Linked DNA regions of Homo sapiens: regions 2 and 3 are each linked to region 1. Evidence: promoter capture Hi-C in human tissues and cell types (Jung and others, 2019). All regions are on one chromosome and are shown on one strand. The core of a region is centred on a gene start or on the middle of the fragment in contact, and the rest is flanking DNA. Distances in the headings are between cores, read along the strand shown. Region 1 holds the start of NFE2L3 (NFE2 like bZIP transcription factor 3). Region 2 has its middle 31 kb from the start of MIR148A. Region 3 overlaps LOC105375199 (a long non-coding RNA gene).

Region 1 (4,577 bases), core at 726-3,225:
AGGAAGGGCTCAGATCAGCATAACAGTGAATCACCGAGCACTTCCACACAATGACCCCTCCAGGAGGGTGGAGAAGCTTGTCTGGCAACAGCCTACACAAACGGCAATTCTGAAGAGCAACAAACAAACCAGTTTAGCCCCAATTCCCATTTTGCATAAGAATGCGCCCCACAAAAACAACACCCGAAGAACATTAGTTGATCACCACTGGTTGATCGTTACCAGTTGCAAACACTAAAGTTTGAGCCAAGACAGAATTTTAAAAGTCCCCTGGAAGGAACTTTGGGTAAAGTGGTTTTGTGGAAACTGGTGTTAAAGTGTCATTAGACTGAACTCAAACGTTCCATGGGGAGCACCAGATGTTTCAAGCAACAGATCTTGGTAAACTTGGTTTCAGAAAGAAGTTAAGCCAGAGAAGGGTTTGGACCCATAAACCAAAGGGAACTTGTTAGTCACTAAGTGACTGCCAAGGTACCTGTTTTCGTTATGCTAATAAGAGGTTACACAAATTCCAGGAAGGAGGATTGCTAGGTGCAGGGGATGGTTAGGTCACAGGGGGACCGCCTGCCGGCTGGCCTCTGAATAGACCCTGACCATGGCTCCTTAATCCAGGGAAGCAGCAAAAACGAACAGCAATTGGGCTGAAAACAGGGCGAAGGTCCTTGCGTTAGGCCGGGAGAGTCGTTCTTAAAAACATGCATCCTCCCAGAGGTCACGGCCTCCTTCACATCGTCCAGGTCGGGCACGGGTCCCAGAGAACGACACCCCAGTGTACATGAGGTACTGAGCGAAGACAGTGGGCATTGCTTCTCCCCTCCCCATCCCCGAACTACTCTTGCCAGCCATCACACACAAGGAAAGGTATTCTCTATAACCAAACGGATGATTTCGTCCACTTCTTCCTTAAACACCTAAAAACCACAGCGACAGCACTAGTAGCCCTTCATTCGGAATCAGAGCAGCAGCATCTGCGAACCTGCAAAGACCAGGGGCTAAGGGTGCCAGGACACAGCGAGAGTGGCCCCTGCTCAGATCCGACACAAGCCTCGGGGGCTCCCGGCGGCGTAGACGCCGCACTTCGCTCGCTTCCCGCTCTGCACCTACCTCGCTCGCACATCCGCCAGCGTCCGGCACCTGAGCCGTCGGTTCCGCGGGTGCCTTCTCCTCTTCCCCGGCGTCCAAGGGGCCACTCCGAGCCGCTCGGGGGTCCCCGCCGCCCCCCTGCACAGCCTGGCTGCCGCCGTCCACGCTGGCGCCGGCTCCTCCGGTGGACGAGGCGGCGGCGGCGCCGAGCAGCCCGTGGGCCTCGTCCGCGCTCCCGGCAGCCACGCTGTGCACCAGCCATGCATCCACGCTGGTGCGAGGGACGAAGGGGACCCCGAGCGCGCGCACCTCCCGGAGCAGCTGGCCCTCGGGCGGCGCGGCAGGGTCCAGCTCCCGGCCCTTGGGGTGCAAGTGGCCCGCGCGCCCCCACCCTCCCGAGGCCGAGAAGGGGCTGAGCGCGTAGGCGGAGCTGGCCGGGCCGCCCAGGAACAGCAGCTCGTCCTGCAGCAGGGTGGGCGGCGGCAGCAGCAGGTAAAGATCTAGGTCTACGCGGAGCCCCGCCAAGCTCAGCAGGAGGGTGAGGTGCAGGAGGCCGCCGCCGGCCGACCACCACCGCTTCAGGTGCTTCATCGCCGCCGCGCGCCCGGGAACGCCCCTGCCGGCGCCCGCGGGTCCCGGCGCCCCAGCCGCCGGGGTGACACGTGCGGACCCCGCGCGCCGCCCGCACCTGCCTGGAACCCAGATAAGCGAAACAATGGACCGGGGCGCGTGGCGGCCGTCGCGGGTTCCCAGCACCGGGCACAAAGGCGTTCCCTCGGCAGCCGGCACCGTGCCTGGCACCGCCGGGGATCGGGAGAAGCGAAGAAGGAGCCACCTGAGCGCCGAGCCCGTTCGCCCAGCCGCCCGCAGCCCGGCGCGGTGGCCAAGCTCCGCCCCCGGCCGCGGGCGCAGCCGACAGGAACACGCCCCCTGCCGCCCGGGGCCCGCGCCCGTGGGAGGGGCCGCACGGGGCGGGGCTCCCCGAGCTCAAAGCCTCTTTATGTCCGGGGAACGCAAGGCTTTCTGGGAGCAGAAGTTGTTCTGGGCACCAAGTGGCCCCTTGCCACCCTGTGGCCGTGAGCTGGGCCATCCTTGCTGAAAGCCAAGGGCGGGAGTTGGGGTGGAGGGCTAGGTGGTGGGTAGCTGGGTGGGAAGGGACAGGATGTGTAGACTGGGCGGAGAGTGACTGGGCAGCTACGAGGGGCCTGGCAGCTTGCAACGGGCTTCCACCCCAACGTGAGGACACTTGGCGGGCAGAGTGGGCAAGAGTAACCTCTCTGTCTCAGTTCCGCTATCTGTAAAATGGGGATCATAGAGCCTGTCAAACAGGGATGTGTTGAGGTCAGATGAAATATTTCGTGTAAAGTTCGGAGTTTCACATATAAATTCCACCGTTGCCATTGGGATCAGTCATCCCACCACTCCGCACACCCCAGTCCCAGCCTCACAGACCCCTCTCTCTTCTCTGGGCGTGCTCTGCATAGTGCTAGACCTCCTCTCGGTATCCTTTGCTCCTTATCCGTTGTTTCCTTGAGGGTTGACAGCACCAGCTCTACAGTTACCCTGAGTGAGTTCAAGTCCCCCCTCCACTTGAGGGGCGACCTTGGACAAATCTCTCCTTTTCTCTGTGCCTCAGTTTTCTCACTGTAAAATGAGACTAATAATAGCACCTCCCCAGCAGACCTTTTGTGAGCCCCAAATGAGATAATGCATGTAAACCACCGACCACAGCACTGCATGGGTAGGAAGTGCTCCCTGCTACCCATTGTTTGTGTTACTCACCCTCAAGGCTTAGCTCCAAAGCTACATCCTCTGAATTTTCACCAGTTGGCATTAATCTCTCCCCCATCTGTTGCACCGTGATTTCTCCGTTTGCCAACATTGTAACAGTTGGCCCATTCAACTCTGTGTTGTAGATGAGAATCGGTCTGATTTGCCCATTGTAAATTCTTGAGGACAAGGAACCTGTTTGGTTCACCTTTGTCCATGCACAGTACCCAGCACTGGGCCTTGCAAGGGTAGGTTTTACTAACCTTAGCTCCCTTCCTTGGAAGAAAAGGGGACAGGAGGGGATGCCCAACTGAGAATGGGCAGTTGTGTAAAAAGTTGAGCAAGACTTGTTTTAAAAGGCCCCTCCCTCCACCTGGCTTTCTCATCTCTCTCCTGGGCTAGTGTAGTAAGAAGAGAAAAGAATGGGGACCAGGGGAGCAGAAACAGGGGAGCAGAGGAAAGTTGCTTCCTCTGTGTTAAGCCTTGGAAGATGGGTTGGGGTGGCAAAGAGGATGAAGAAAGGTGATTGCCAGGTTATCAAGACCCCGTTCACAGCATTTAGTCTTTGAACAGCGGATTTAGAGTCTCAGCTTAGTAAATGCTGCCTTCAGCTTTTTACTGAGAACCTACTAACTGCCTGAGGCTGTGCTGGAGGCATGAAGGATATGAAACGGAGTTCTTTCCTTCCGTAAGCTTATGGTTTTACTAGGGAGATGAGATAAAAATTTGTGAGACACTAAGAAACAAGAGAAATAATGTACTCAATTGCCAAAATACTTAGATGTAAATTACTTCAAGGTTTATATAGGGAGCTCTAAAACTATTGAGAGTAGAGGCGGTGCCTTCTTCAAGGCGGTGCCCTCCAGAATCTTACACACAGTTGATGCTCAAAAAAAATATTAGTTGAATTGAGGAGGTTACACTTGAGATGTATTTTGAGAAATCTGAATAGACTGGGAACAGGAAGCACATACAAACTTCTAACATTTGTTGGGAAGTGGGCTAACCCCTCACCATTTTACAATGTGAATTGGTAATCATAGTGTTAAATATCTTTCAGACTATACACTTCAAAAGCATGGCTTAACTCTGGCTCTTGACTGGTGGGAAGAACAAGGGTACCTAAAAGACCTTGCAGGAAAGTGTTAACCAGGAGACAATCCTACATACCCTTGACTTTACTCACAATAAAAAGTCCCACTTTTAGGAGCATGGGGAGAATGGAATGAAATTAGAAGGAAAAACTTCTCTTTAGGTTTATTTCTAGAATCCTCCATCTAGGAATAGCCAAGTGAAAAGTCCAAACCATTGTCTTGTAAAAGCCTTGAAAAGTCATCTGCATTCATAAAATCCTGAAATCAGTGCTACTCAAAGGTTGACCTGAAACTGATGCTCATGTGTAAACTATTTGCTTCTGATCCAAATGAGATAAGTAATAGAATTGAGAATTTAAAGAAAAAAAAATTTTTTTTTGTAGAGATGGAGTCTTGCTGTGTTGCCCAGGCCTGTCTTGAACTCCTGGGCTCAAGCGATCCTCCTGCCTCAGCCTCCCTAACTGCTGCAATTACAGGTGTGAGCCACCATGCCTGGCCTAAAGAAATTTTTATAGCAATTTGACATCATTACAACATCAACAGATGAGCTGAGGTTTTGGGTTTTTTAAATGCCTTTGTAATTTCATTTTTCTAGAAATGAATTTCTATTTTATTTGACAAAAGTGCTGA
Region 2 (4,577 bases), core at 1,292-3,791, 230 kb after region 1:
TTTCAATTCTTTTGGGTGTATAACCAGATTTGGAATTGCTGGGTTATATGGCAATTCTATTTTTAATTTTTTGAGGAACTACCATAATGTTCCCTAGTGGCTGCATCATTTTACATTCCCACCAACAGTGCACAAGGGTTCCAATTTCTCCATATTTTTGCCACTTGTTATTTTCTGGTTTTTTGATAGTAGCCACTTGAATGGGTGTGAGGTGGCATTTTCTTTTGGTTTTGATTTGCATATTTCCTAATGATTTGTGTCTTAGTCCATTTGGGCTACTATAACATAATACTGTACACTGGGTAGCTTATAACCAAGAGAAATTTGTTTCTCACAGTTCTGGAGGCTTGGAAGTCCAAGATCAAGCAGCCATGTTTGGTATCTGATGAAGGCACACTTTCTCATAGACAGTGCCTTTCACTGTGTCCTCACATGATGGGAGGGATTTAAGAGCTGCCTTGGGCCTATTTTATAAGGGGCACTGATTTTATTCATTAGGGCTCTGCCTTCATGACCTAATCGGCTCCCCCAAAAGGCCCACCTCCTAATATAATTACCTTGGGGATTCAAATTTTAATGTATGAGTTTTGGGAAGACACAAACATCACTAGCAATTAGTGATGTTGAGCATCTTTTCATTGTTTATTGGCCATTTTTATATCTTCTTTGGAGAAATATCTATTCAAGTCCTTCACTCATTTTTAAATGAGGTTGTTGGGCTTCTTGTTGTTGAGTTGTGAGTTGTAGGAGTTCTTTATGTATTCAGAATATTAGCCCTTTATCAGATGCATGATTTGCAAATATTTTTTCCCCATTTCCTGTGGTGTCTTTTCACTCTTTTGATTCTATCATTTAATACACAGAAGTTTTTTAATTTGATGGAGTTTGATTTTTCTATTATTTTCTTTTTTTTGCCTGTGTTTTTTGCATCATATTCAAGAAATCATTGATAAATCCAATGTCATCATGCTTCTTCCCTGTGTTTTATTCTAAGAGTTTTATAGTTTTAGTTCTTACATTTAGGTCTTTGATCCATTTTTAGTTAATTTTTGTTCATGGTATAAGGTAAGAGTCCAACTTCATTCTTTTGCATGTGAGTATACAGTTTTACCAACACTGTTTGTTGAAAAGACTTCCCTTTTCCCATTGAATGATCTTGGGGCTCTTGTCAAAAATCATTCAACTATATATGTGAAGGTTTATTTTTGGGCCGTTTATCTTATTCCATTGGTCTATATGTCTGTCATTATACCAATACCTCACTCATAATATAGTTGTTATTACTATAGGTGTGTATTACGTTTTGAAATCAGGAAGTGTGAGAACTCCAACTTTGTTCTTCATTTTCAAAATTGTTTTGGCTATTTGGTGTCCCTTGAAATTCCATATAAATTTTAGGAGGGATTTTTCTATTTCTAAAAAAAATGTCATTAGGATTTTGATAGGGATTGTATTGAATCTATAGATTACTTTTAATAGTACTGATATCTTAATAGTGTTAACTCTTCTGATCTGTGAACACAGGATGCCTTTCCATTCATTGGTGTCTTCTTTCAGCAATGTTTTGTAGTTTTCAGTGTACAAGTATTTTGCCTCCTTGGATAAGCTTATTCCTAAGTATTTTATTATTTTTGATACTATCATAAATGGAATTATTTTCTTAATTTCCTTTTCTAATTGTTCATTGTTAGTGTATAGAAATCTAGCTGAGTTTTGTTCATTGATTTTGTATCCTAAAACTTCACTTTTCTAACTGACTCTTTTGGTGGAATCTTTAGGGTTTTCTAAATATCAGATTATGTCATCTATAAACAGAGATAACTTCACTTCTTCCTTTCTAATTTAGATGCTTTTTATTTATATATTTTTTCTTGCCTAATTTCTCTGGCTAAGACTTCCAGTATAGAATAGAAGTGACAATAGTGGGCATCCTTGTCTTCTTTCTGATCTTAGAGAAAGAGCTTCAGTCTTTCACCATTGAGTACAATTTTAGCTATGCGATTTTCATATGTGGTTTTTATTATGTTGAGGTAGTTATTTTTTATTTGTAGTTGGTTGACTGTTTCTATCATTAAAAAGTGTTGAAATGTGTCAAATGCTTTTACTGCATCAATTGAGATAATGAGGTTTTTTTTTTTTTACTTTATTCTGTTAATGCGATATATTATATTGATTGACTTTTATACATTGAGCCATCCTTGCATTGCAGGAATAAATCCCATATAGCCATGTTAGTATAATCCTTTTATGTGCTATTGAATTCTTTTTGCTGGTATTTTGTTGAAGATTTGTTTGTACCAATGTTTATTAGGGGTAATGGTTTGCAGTTTTTTTTGTTTTTGTTTTTTGTTTTTTTTTGGAGTGTCTTTGTTTAGCTTTGGTATCAAGGTAATACTGGCCTCATAGAATGAGTTTGGATGTTTTCTCCCCTATTCAATTTTTTTGGAAGAGTTTAGAATGACCGGTGTTACTTCTTTTTTAAATATTTGGTAGAAATTCCTCAGTGAAGCCATCTGGGCCTAGGCTTTTCTTTGTTGGGAGGTTTTTCATTACTGATTCAATTGCCTTAGTAGTTATGGGTTTATTGAGATTTTCTGTTTCTTCATGATTCAGAAACAGAGATTTTCTGTTCCTTCCTGATTCAGTACAATAAGTTGTGTACTTCTGGGAATTTATTCGTTTCGTATAAGTTATCCAATTTGTTGCTGCACAATTGTTTGTAGTACTCTCTTATAATTCTTTTGATATCTGTAAAATCAGTTATAATGTTCCCTCTTTCATTTCTGATTTTGGTTATGAATATTACTTCCTTTTTTTCTTAGTCAATCTAGCTAAAGCTTTGTCAATTTTGTTGAATTTTTCAAAGCACCAACTCTTGGTTTTGTTGATTTTCTATACTGGCTTTCTATTCTTTATTTTGTTTATCTCTGCTCTAATCTTTATTATTATCTTCCTTCTGCTAACTTTGAGGTTAGTCCTTTATCTAGTTCCTTAGGGTGCAAATTTGGGTTGTTGATTTGAGATCTTTCCTCGTTTTTAATGTAAGTGCTTTAGAGCTTTCTAAATAGGGCCATCTACATGCATTTATCCTGGTAACTTTACAGGAAGAATCAGTGAGCAGTTGGCAACATTCCACCCCAGGTAAGGGACCCTCATTAGATACTTGCCTACTGCTCATATTTCAGTTTCAGAGTTCCATGCATTTCCCACGTCTGAGATTTTGGAGAGGCTTTTCCTGTTTATATAACCACATCAAGTTTTCACTAACTGATTGTATTTTGGACTCAAATAATTTTGTTTCATTGTGATTAGGTCTATATCCAAGACCTAATCATTTTGTTTGAAACACAGTACTTAAAGGAAATCAGTCTACTCTTTTGCTTCTAAAATATCTAATATAAAGTACTGCCTTAACTTCATTAAGAGTAGATCCACTGCCATAGGATTCAAACAAAGGTGAAGACAGTAGTAACTGTTCAAGGAAATAGGAGACTTAGAGTTTCACTGGTTCTCTCAATTTGTAGCCTGGGTGAGAAACGTGTTTGGCTGGTGTCTACTTATTTGATATAACAAGAAAACTCATCACAAGGGCTGGAAATACTTCTTTGTGGCTACAATACGGATGGGAGGGGTATGTAGATTAGCACATTTTCTGATGCGTTTAACAGAAAATCAGACTCAAAATGGCTTAAACTATAGAGAAATGAATCATGTCTTATCACTGGGAGTTCAGAGGCAGGCAGACTCTGGAGTAGCAAAGCTTAGTTATGTGATCAAGGACCCAGGATCCAGTCTGGATCACTTCATGGTCATAAGATGGCTGTAAGCAGCCATGGGGCAATATGCTTCCTCATTCATAGCTTAAAAAAAGAGGGGGAAAAGAAAGAATGCTCTTTTCCTCACTCTAAAACATAGAATTAAAGTCCTACACTGTCAGTTATGGCCGTATGTGGTTATCAAGGACTTGAAATGTGCCTATTCCAAATTGAGGTGTTCTGTAAGTATAAACAACACAACTAAATTTTGAAGACTTAGTATGAAAAAAGGAATGTAAAATATCTCAATAATTTTTTTATTGATTCTGTGTTTACATAACATTTTGGGTATATGGTATTGAATTACCTAAATATATTTCTAAAATTAATTTTACCTGTTTCTTTGTACTTTTAAAAATGTGGCTACTAGAAAATTTTAAATTGCATATGTGGCTTGCATTATATTTCTACTGGGGCTGGGCGTTGGACACAGTTTGGACAGTGACCAGACAGGTCCCATGGGCTGATTGGCCTCAGCCAATCATGGGGGTGAGTGGATGTTGGGGGGTCAATTACAATGTCCATCACAAAGCAAGAGGAGTGGAGGAGAGCTGTGCATCACTGTACTCGTTCGGGACTGATAGAGATAAAAAATGACTTCAATACATTTAATCTACTCTGGGATTTGGAATAACGCAAATCCTCCCAAACCCACTCCTTTTTTCCTTCTCTCAGGCCTGTTTTCTCAAGCCCATTCTTTACTCTAGGAGTGGACAAGATAGATTGAAGAGTGCCAGGAAGTGGAGGGTGGGATGAGGGTGT
Region 3 (4,577 bases), core at 1,523-4,022, 190 kb after region 1:
TTTCCCTTCTCTTTAGCTAGTTAGCTAGTGTGCCAGGCCTGGCCTGTGAGGCCATTCCTTCCCAGCTGTGCTGTGTAATGCAGGAGGCTGGCCCTTGTGGGCTATTTCTTAGGATCCGGTGTCAGCTGCTTTCTGGCTGGGTTTGGCCAATGGAAGGCACCAATGGGAACTGCATGGTGAGAAGAAGAGAGAAGCCACAATGTTTCTCCTTGCCCTTCCCTGTCTTGAATGGCATCTACAGCTCCAGCTCCTACCAATCAGGCCCCTGTGGTTCCAGCTTCTGCAGGGTGACCTGGCTTCTTCTGGCTTCTGGTAACACTGCTTCCTCCTTTGATCCTCCACTTTAGGGGCAGTATAGCTTCCTGTCCCTGCTCATCTCTGGGTTATGTCACCGTCTCCTAGTAACTGCTCAGCTTTGTTGTCTCCTGAGCAACCAAAATACTCAGAGTGGTTTCTGTTCCCTGGCTAGATTATGGCAGACATGGTTATTCCTGCCTTCTTCCCTTCCTTCCCTCTCTTCTTCCCTTGTTCCCTCCCTTTTTCCTTCCTTCCTTCCAATTAGTTATTTATTGCTGCATAACAAATTACTCTAAAACCTAGGCAATAAGCATTTAAGAGCTCACAGGTCCTGTAAGTAAGGAATCTGGGCACAGCCTAGCTGGGCACCTCTGGCTCAAGTTGTCTCATGCAGTCAAGCTGTTGGTAAGGGTTTTGGTCTTATCTGAAAGCATGACTTGTGAGGGGGCTTCATCCCCAAGATCACTTGCTTGGTGGTCCTCAGCCCCTTGCTATGTGGCCTCTCTGCAGGACACCCTTGTGATGTGGCAGCTAGCTTCCACCAAGGCAAGCGGTTATAGAAAGGGAGAAGGGGAGAGAAAGCCCGAGACAGAAACCACTGCCTTTTTATAGCCCAATCTTGGAAGTGGCATCTGATCTCTTTTTCTGTATTCTATTTGCTACAAGTGAAGTTAATAATAAGGCCAGCCCATATTCAAGAAGACACTACACAAGGGTATGAATACCAGGAGGTGTTGATAATTGGAGGTCATCTTAGAGACTTCTTGTCTTTCTTTCCTCCTTCTCAACCTACCTCCATCCCTTTCTTCTTCCTTCTGTTCCTTCCTTCTTCCCTCCCTCTCTTCCCTCCCTCCCACTCTTCCCTTTGTTCTTCTCTCCTTCCTCCATCCTTCCTATCCTCCTTCCCTCTCTCCCTCACTCCCCCTTCCTTCCCTTTCTTTCTTTTTTCCTTCCTTCCTCCCTTCCTCCCTCTCTTGCCTCCTTCCCTCCTTCCCTTCTTGCTCCCCTCTCTCCCTCCCTCCCTTCCTCCTTTCTTTCCTCCTTCCTTCCTTCTTTCTGGAAGTGGTAGAAATTATAAGGAGATTGTTTTGGGATCTTGTGCCACAGATTGTCTTTCCAAAGCCAACTCTACCTTTTGAATCCTGCATATTTCTTTGTCTTCTCCAACACCATCAGCAAGATATAAATGAAATGGGTGTCTATGGGCTGGTTTGGGAATACCATTTGTAATACTGCATACATGGGAACTTGTACTTGACACTCTATATTCCAAATATATTAGTGAATTTTTTTTGGACACAACCTATTTGTAAATTGCCAATTCGCTGGAATAACAACAATCACAAAAGATTGTTGTTTTTGAGACACCATTTGACTCTTAATATCAGAGATATTGTCATGCGCTTCCTGATTGGTTTAATTTCACCTGGGACTGATATTAAAGGAGGTATATTGTTCACATTACAGATACAGGTTCCTCAGTGCACCTATCTGTTAGGGATGAACTGAAGCATGGAAGTTAAAATAAGGGTAATATTATTTCTTCAAAGGTACTCATCCCTTTTGGAAATGGTACTCAATTCTTTTTCTTTAAATGTCACAGAATTGCTGATGTCATCAGTAGGAAATCTAGTTTATGGACCTTCCCTCCCAATGATAGCAGTCATTCCTGTGAAATGACACCTCCTTGCTAATATTGAATTGTGGGGTGCTACACTGAGTCACTCAAAGAGGAGCTGAGAAATGAAACAAAGATTACATAGACCAGCCATCTACCGAGCTGTAAGATTTGGTATTCTATTTTCTACTGAGGATTGATTATTCTCCATTTCATGGCAATTTCTGTGTCAGTCTTTGAAAAGAAGTAAAACAATATAATAAGAGAGAGACGATAACTTGTAATTGTTGATTCCTTCACAGACACTGGGATGGATTAAATGCTGACATATTTGCCATAAATACGGATATGGATGTCTGCCAATGCGAGAGTCACCCACGTATCTGCCAAAACAAACATAGTTAGGCACTATTTAAGATATCCGTCTTCAGAAAGCACAGAACTATATCAATTTTTAAAATTGATTTTTAAAGCTTATAATCAAACCCTCTGATCTATTCTTCCTATTTCCCCAAAAGGAGCTGTCCCAGGAATTAGGACATTCACTGTGCTTTGCTGAGGTAGGGTGGACCTAGGGGAGGGAGGCAGTGCTGCCTAGGGGTTTCTGGAAAGGAATTGCATAGCTTGGAAAATGAGCCAGAAACCTATACTCCAAGGTGATTTCCAAATGATCACAGCAGGAAGTTTTGTGGCAATTTTGCATATATGACTTTTATACCTAATTTTCAGTGCTTCTGCACATGTGGTTCATATGTTTACCCCAAAGCATTTCTTGCCTCCAGCTGGAATATGCTCAGAAATGACCTGTGACATTTTTACATTCACAAACTAAAAGTACCAATATCTATCCCTCAGTGTATCCACAAATGTTGTCTCTTTCCCTTTGTGCCATTTTCTGTTCGGTTGCCATTTCACAGGAATGGGTTGAAAGATGCCCCCAAGGTGATCTTCATGAATCCCAGTAAAGCAAAGACAGCCAATGTAAAGACAGAGGCCAATTGTTGTAAAAGGTCACAGCTGCTTTCATCAGCTGACATGTGAACCGCTGGAAAGGTACCATATCAATGAAAAGAATAACACGACAGCAAAATCAGGCACACTGCCTCCTCAGTTCTATATCCTGTGCAGGTTTGCAACCCGCCTTGCTGCTGGTGAGGCAGAGAGTGAGAGAGTATTTGCATTGGCTGGAAGGGACTTTTTTTTTTCTACAGGATAAAAATAGGTGGAACAGGAAAGCACCCATGCTTTTATTGAAAGAAAGTATGCTGGTTGCCGAGATTTAGGGCTATATTTTTAAAGACGAACTTCTCTTACTGGAATTATTACTCTTACAGGGGTGGTGAGGTCAGAGTCAACTGTAGTCAACTGTAGTTGCTATGGGTGTAGTTATTTGATGGGGAGACATCCAAGAATGATGGGCTGTGATGTGGTTGAGGTTTGCAGAGGACGTTCTAGCCTCACACTATTGCTACTTGGCTTTTTCTGTCCGATGCATCCCACTTCTTATTCATACCTCAGTGGAGTCCCCTCTTGTGTAACTGAGAGGCCCCTTTGAATCCCAGAGCTGCTCACTGCCCTTCTTTGACCATGAAGGCTTAACTAAAGATCTTTGGAAGGACTGGTTGCTCAGGTTTTTTTTCTATTGCATTGGAAACATCAGTAAAGAGAAGTTTACATGAGCCTGCACATTAGAGCCAAATTACAGATGTAATTTAAAACAAACATATATACATATCCACACACATACACACATATACATATACACATATATATGGACTTAGCCCTCTAGACACTGGAATTTGAAACTGAAAATATGTATACGGGGATTTGGGGAATGACATTCTATTTAATTCTAATTTGAAAGACTTTAACTTTCTACCATTAAAAAAAACTATGTTTTTGTAACAGCATGCACTGTTCACAGTACTAGCACAGCATTTTGCAAGAAGAGTGTTTATTATTAATAATTAGCTAAGTTAGATGATTTTGCTACCAGAGTTTTAGTCTTGGCTCTGCCACCGGGCAGTAACTGTGTGTGTGACCTTGGCCGGATCACTTAACCTTCTTGGCTTTGGTTTCCTGCTCTATAACACATGAGGATTAAAATAGATCAGTAAGTCTCAAACTGTAGGCCTCAATCCACTAGTGAATCATGAAACCAATTTAGTGAGTTTGATCAGCATTAAAAATTAAAAAAAAAAAAAAAAAAAAAAAAAAAAAAGAGGCTGGGCGCGGTGGCTTATGCCTGTAATCCCAACACTTTGGGAGACCGAGGTGGGCGGATCACAAGGTTAGGAGATCAAGACTATCCTGGCCAACATAGTGAAATCCCGTCTCTACTAAAAATACAAAAATTAGCCGGGCGTGGCAGTGCACACCTGTAGTCCCAGCTACTCGGGAGGCTAAGGCAGGAGAATTGCTTGAACCCGGGAGGCTGAGGCTGCAGTGAGCCAAGATCACATCACAGCACTCCAGCCTGGGCGACAGAGTGAGACTCTTCTCAAAATAATAATAGTAATAATAATAAATAAAAATAAAGAAAAGAAAAGAAAATGTTGGAACGCATTACATGTCATATGACATATTATTGTTGCCAAAAGTTGTCATTTCCGTTAAATCTCTGTTTATATGTTTATGTGTACATAGGGTTGCAATGTGAAAT

Evidence for each region. The method cuts DNA at HindIII sites, captures the fragments that hold promoters and counts their contacts. A contact is called where the count stands out against the background at its distance.
Region 2: a fragment that was not itself captured here is called in contact with the fragment with the promoter of NFE2L3 in region 1 in 1 of the 25 tissues and cell types used here (mesendoderm cells).
Region 3: a contact is called between a fragment that was not itself captured here and the fragment with the promoter of NFE2L3 in region 1, in 1 of the 25 tissues and cell types used here (H1 embryonic stem cells).

The regions. Positions count from the first base shown.
Region 1 is chr7:26,149,596-26,154,172 of GRCh38, reverse strand. NFE2L3 (NFE2 like bZIP transcription factor 3) reads right to left here and starts at 1,975. Exons shown (of 4, transcript NM_004289.7): 1 at 1,105-1,975. The coding sequence starts at 1,674. RefSeq lists enhancers at 887-1,076, 427-1,220, 1,221-2,015 and silencers at 1,197-1,266, 1,277-1,526, 1,637-1,706, 1,717-1,786, 1,807-2,186. The HindIII fragment of the contact is 11,508 bases long and covers 1-4,577 here.
Region 2 is chr7:25,916,565-25,921,141 of GRCh38, reverse strand. No RefSeq gene overlaps it. Among named protein-coding and RNA genes, the nearest start is that of MIR148A, 31 kb to the left of the region's middle. The HindIII fragment of the contact is 5,057 bases long and covers 13-4,577 here.
Region 3 is chr7:25,963,303-25,967,879 of GRCh38, reverse strand. All of the region lies in intron 6 of LOC105375199 (a long non-coding RNA gene), which reads left to right. Among named protein-coding and RNA genes, the nearest start is that of MIR148A, 16 kb to the right of the region's middle. RefSeq lists an enhancer at 3,106-3,245. The HindIII fragment of the contact is 3,702 bases long and covers 922-4,577 here.